Regions from separate parts of the Homo sapiens genome. Here region 1 is linked to region 2. Evidence: promoter capture Hi-C in human tissues and cell types (Jung and others, 2019). All regions are on one chromosome and are shown on one strand. The core of a region is centred on a gene start or on the middle of the fragment in contact, and the rest is flanking DNA. Distances in the headings are between cores, read along the strand shown.

Region 1 (2,700 bases), core at 59-2,558, 130 kb after region 2:
ATAGTAGGTGTATATATGTATGGGGTACATGAAATGTTTTGATACAGGCATGCAATATGAAATAAGCATTCATGGAGAATGGAGTATCCATCCCCTCAAGCAAGGATAAACCTTTGAGTTACAAACAATCCAATTACACTCTTTAAAGGTGTACATTTTTTTTTTTTTTGAGACGGAGTCTCACTCTGTCGCCCAGGCTGGAGTGGAGTGGCACGATCTTGGCTCACTGCAGCCTCCACCTCCCAAGTTCAAGCCATTCTCCTGCCTCAGCCTCCCGAGTAGCTGGGATCACAGGCACATGCCACCATGCCTGGCTAATTTTTGTATTTTTAGTAGAGACGGAGTTTCACCAGGTTGGCCAGGCTGGTCTTGAACACCTGATCTCAGGTGATCCGCCCATCTCGGCCTCTCAAAGTGCTGGGATTACAGGTGCGAGCCATCGCGCCTGGCCTAGAGGTGTACATTTTTTAACAGAACCATTCAAAAGGAGGTTGTGGGGATCATGACACTTCCATGCTACAGCATTAATCTCCTAAGAATAAGGATACACTCCCACATACCATGACACTCTGTTCACACCTAAAAAAATTTACATTTATTCCAGAATATCATCTAATCTCCAGTCCGTGCTTACATGTCCCCAATTGTCCCCAAAACATCTTTTATAGATTTTTTTAAAATTTTGTTTAAATGCCATATCCAATCGATATGGCAATCAAATGCAAATCCATATTGCATTTGGTTATGTCTCTTAGTCTTTTTGCATAAGGGGGGCCTCTCTTTAGGATGCAAAATCTTTATCATCTCTTCTTTTCCACTTGGGGACTTGGGCTGAAAATCAGGAGTGGCTGGAACACGCCCATTTACTGTTTGGTTTTGCAGGTTGTTGGAGGGTACTACAGAAGAACATCCCTCTGGAGAGGGGCCGTGAGCCTGGTTGGCCTAGACTGAGTGCCCTGGCAGAGCTCTTCCTCATGTGTGCAGTGGGAAAGAAGCCCAGATCAGTCCAAAGGCCTAACCCCCACTCCCAGACCCTACCCTACTCTTCAGAGAAATAGGCTCCCTACCCTGAACCCTAAAGACAGCTGTACCTTCATCCCCAGGGACCCAGCACCCCTTCTGGCCTATCCCCAAAGAGTCACCCTGGGTCTTAGGTAGTAGGTGGAGCTGAGGGATAATGGCCCAAGGCCAAGAGTTGATCCTTCCAACTTTGTTCAGTGATCCAGCTTTCATATCAGGTGATCAGGACAACCAGGCCAATCTGATAGGGGGCGGTGTTTATAAAAAGGCCACTCACCTAGAGCCAGAAGCTCCACACCAGCCATTACAACCCTGCCAATCTCAAGCACCTGCCTCTACAGGTACCTTTCTTGGGACCAATTTACAATCTCTGGGATCCCCAACTATAGAACCTGGAAGCTAGTGGGGACAGAAAGACGGGGAGCCTGGGCTAGGTGTAGGGGTCCTGAGTTCCGGGCTTTGCTACCCAGCTCTTGACTTCTGTTTCCCGATTTTAAATGAGCAGTTTGGACTAAGCCATTTTTAAGGAGAGCGATGGGGAGGGCTTCCCCCTTAGCACAAGGGCAGCCCTGGCCCTGGCTGAAGCCCAACCCCAACCTCCAAGACTGTGAGAGGATGGGGACTCATCCCTGGAGGAGGTGCCCCTCCTGGTATTGATAAAGAATGCCCTGGGGAGGGGGCATCACAGGCTATTTGAACCAGCCCTGGGACCTTGGCCACCTCAGTGTCACTGGGTAGGGGGAACTCCTGGTCCCTTGGGTATATGGAAGGTATCAGCAGAAAGCCAGCACTGGCAGGGACTCTTTGGTACAATACCCAGCATGCATGCTGTGCCAGGGGCTGACAAGGGTGCTGTCCTTGGCTTCCCCATTTTGGAGTGGTCACTTGCCTCTACTCCAGCCCCAGAAGTGGAAACTGAGATGATGTGTGGAGGAGAGAGCCAGCGTTCATGTTGGGAATCTTGAGGCTCCTTTCCAGCTCTCAGATTCTGTGATGCTCAAAGGGTGAGCTCTGTGGGCCCAGGACGCATGGTAGATGGAGCTTAGTCTTTCTGGTATCCAGCTGGGAGCCAAGCACAGAACACGCATCAGTGTTTATCAAATGACTGAGGAAATGAATGAATGAATGTCTCCATCTCAACCCTCAGCCTGGTCCCTCCTTTTTTCCCTGCAGTTGGTACAGATGGCATTGTCCCAGTCTGTTCCCTTCTCGGCCACAGAGCTTCTCCTGGCCTCTGCCATCTTCTGCCTGGTATTCTGGGTGCTCAAGGGTTTGAGGCCTCGGGTCCCCAAAGGCCTGAAAAGTCCACCAGAGCCATGGGGCTGGCCCTTGCTCGGGCATGTGCTGACCCTGGGGAAGAACCCGCACCTGGCACTGTCAAGGATGAGCCAGCGCTACGGGGACGTCCTGCAGATCCGCATTGGCTCCACGCCCGTGCTGGTGCTGAGCCGCCTGGACACCATCCGGCAGGCCCTGGTGCGGCAGGGCGACGATTTCAAGGGCCGGCCTGACCTCTACACCTCCACCCTCATCACTGATGGCCAGAGCTTGACCTTCAGCACAGACTCTGGACCGGTGTGGGCTGCCCGCCGGCGCCTGGCCCAGAATGCCCTCAACACCTTCTCCATCGCCTCTGACCCAGCTTCCTCATCCTCCTGCTACCTGGAGGAGCATGTGAGC
Region 2 (2,700 bases), core at 93-2,592:
GGCTTAGTCCGCAGATGACTCCTCCCTTGGCGGCCTGGAGTTTGATTCTGGCCCAGTCCGGCTTTCCCTCTGTCCCCGGGTCTCCCCTCGGCGCCACTGGTGGCGGTTACAGGGGATGGGACTCTGAGACCCCCTGGGACCTGGGGCGGCAGGAAGGGACGCGAACGAGGGCGCAGGCTCCCCTGTGTGTTTTGTTGTGGTGGTAGAGCCACTCCAGCCCGGAGGATGGGCTAGGCCAAGCTGACAGTTCAAATCCCCTGGCTGCTCCTCCGTCCCGCCCGGGAGTCTCTAGCTTTAGTTCCGGGTGTGGGTGCCCTGATGTGGAGCTGGGGTGGAAATTGCCTGAACCAGGCCCCCATCAGAGGCGGAGTTGGCGGCCTTCCAGCTTCCCTTCTTGATGCCCTTGAAAAGGAGGAGCGTTTCACCGTTGGTGGTGGAGGCTTGCGAGGTGGCAGGTTTGAGGTTGCAGTGGTAGGGCAGTCCAGCCAAAAATAACCATGGGTGCTGGGGTGGCTGGAATCCGGGAGGGCAGCCGCTGACCTGGCTGGCTGCACTTCTAGTCAGCCCAGTTCTCTGGCCAGGAACAGCAAATGAGAAGCCGACAAGGCCTGTGCTCAAAGTTGACATCCTTGGCTTGGTTTTCTTCATATCACCTTTTTCCTCATTGTGCAGAGCAGAGCTTCCCAAAGCATAATTGTGGCCTTTAGCTGCTTTTTAAACAAGCTGTTTGCTGAGGTTTTCGAGAATCAGAGATAATTGAGAAATGGGCCCTAGAGCCCTGGCTGGGAGGATGATATCTGCTATTTCCAATATTTTACTTGCCTAGAATGTGTTAAAGGAAGGATACTCTTCTCTGTTATTGCTTTGTGTGTGGTACCTTATAACTCTCATGCTTGTCATCTCTTTTGCCAGGCTGAGAGATGTTATCTCCATTTTCCAGGCATGCTAACCAAGGCCTAGAGTGACTTGTCTAAGGTCATGAGGCTGGTATGTGACAGCACTAGGATTTAGTTTAGTTTTCTGCCAGAGCTCTTGCCTCCCAGTTTCCTTGGAAGGGACTTATAAAATGTCTGTAAGGCATTTAACACAGCCCTGAAGTGTTACCTGGAACTTTCAGATGTTCATGAAAAGCTGCCACTAGTACCTCTGTGGGCACAAAGCTGTGCTAGGCATTTCACTTATAGGAGAGAGATATTTAATCCTCACAGAACCTTGTAAGAGATTACTATTCCCTTGTTGCAAGATGAAGCTGACGGTCAGAGTAGTGTAATAATTTGTTCAAAGGCACACAGCTAGAAGTGGCAAGCCATGATTCAGATTGACATCTATATGACTCTGAAATTTTGTTTTCCATTGATGTGAATATGTATGGACATAAGAATCTTCTAGGTCCCAGGAGGTAGTCTTTGGCGTGGTGTGACTGTGACTGTGTCCTCCAGCTCTGGTGTTTGTCTGCCCAGTGAGGATGGGCAGGACCATACTTGCCTTGTGGCACGACATGTGCCCTGGCCAATAGAGCATCTTCTGGGTCAATTAGTGGGGTGTGAGTTCCTGCTTTCATTCCATAGCTTGGGCACCTGACCCAGAGTAATTGCAGGAAAACAGTGAAATATTAGTCAGCTGATTACCAAAACAACAAATCTAAGCTTTTGGGGAGGTGATTTCACAAAATATTTATCTCCAAAGACTTCCCAGGTACACGGGGGAAGACAAGTTAGTGGGGAGATGGAGGGCTTTCTTAGGGACACGGAGAGGCTCCCAGGGGTTTGGTCACATAGGCCTCACTGTCCTGCTCAAGCATGGGGAGCTGTTCTATGCTGCTTTTCTCCTGACAGACCCTGCTGGTGAGATGGGGCAGCCTCAGTGGGTTTGTACAAAATGTGCTTGGCCAGGCAAGCTCAGGACTGACCATGACTGGAGGTTGGCTGTGGCCAAGTGTGAGTGTTGGGAAGAAGGCTGGCTCCATGGAGGCAGTCAGGGATTGACGTATGGGTGGAGCAGGTTGCTGGCCTCACATGGCCAGCTTTCTCCGCTGGTGGCAGATCCAGCCTGGCAATTTCATTTGGTGGATATAAGTCCTCACTGAACAGGGATAGTGAGGTGGGGCTCTTTTACCTGCCAGATGGCTAACCCTCTGGCTATCCTGGGATAGGCGGAGGGTAGGATACTAGAGCCAGAGAGCTAGAAGAAGGGACAGTAACGGTACTGTTGGATAAAGGCAAGGCACCTGGCAGGGCACTGTGGGGGTCTAAAAGGGTGCTAAATGGGCCTCTGGAAAGAAAGTTAGATGCGCTGGGTCCACGTCCCCTTGGGTTGACCCTCAGGAGGGCTATGGAATGTTTGTGAGGCCTGTGTGCCTCTTTCTCCAAGGGCTGCTCTTCTAGTCTCTTGTGGCTCCTCATGCTCACTTGTGGTCCTTACTCCCTTGAGTGGGGTCCAGTTCAGGGCCCTAGCCAGACAGCGTTCAGCTTCTCAAACTTGAGGGCTTTGAGCCCTCGCCTCCTGTGTACAGCCCTTTGCCTGGCCTTTGGCTTTACAGAGCATTCACTTCACGGGACCGCCCCCCCGGGCGGGAGGGAATAGAGTGCAGGAGGCTCCCCTTTCTCCTGCCTTTGATCTCCCTGTGGTAGTGTTCACCGTCCCCACCCAGGGTTACTGCCTCAGCCCCTGGCCCTGGCTCACCCAGTTCCCTGAGCACCC

What was found. The method cuts DNA at HindIII sites, captures the fragments that hold promoters and counts their contacts. A contact is called where the count stands out against the background at its distance.
Region 1: a contact is called between the fragment with the promoter of CYP1A2 here and a fragment that was not itself captured in region 2, in 4 of the 25 tissues and cell types used here (lymphoblastoid cells, mesendoderm cells, spleen and 1 more).

The regions. Positions count from the first base shown.
Region 1 is chr15:74,747,537-74,750,236 of GRCh38, forward strand. CYP1A2 (cytochrome P450 family 1 subfamily A member 2) reads left to right here and starts at 1,309. Exons shown (of 7, transcript NM_000761.5): 1 at 1,309-1,361; 2 at 2,194-2,700. The coding sequence starts at 2,203. RefSeq lists promoters at 1-1,399, 1,065-2,202. The HindIII fragment of the contact is 12,167 bases long and covers 1-2,700 here.
Region 2 is chr15:74,616,247-74,618,946 of GRCh38, forward strand. The region is part of intron 1 of CLK3 (CDC like kinase 3); the gene reads left to right. Among named protein-coding and RNA genes, the nearest start is that of CLK3, 1.8 kb to the left of the region's middle. RefSeq lists enhancers at 1-344, 345-955. The HindIII fragment of the contact is 8,305 bases long and covers 1-2,700 here.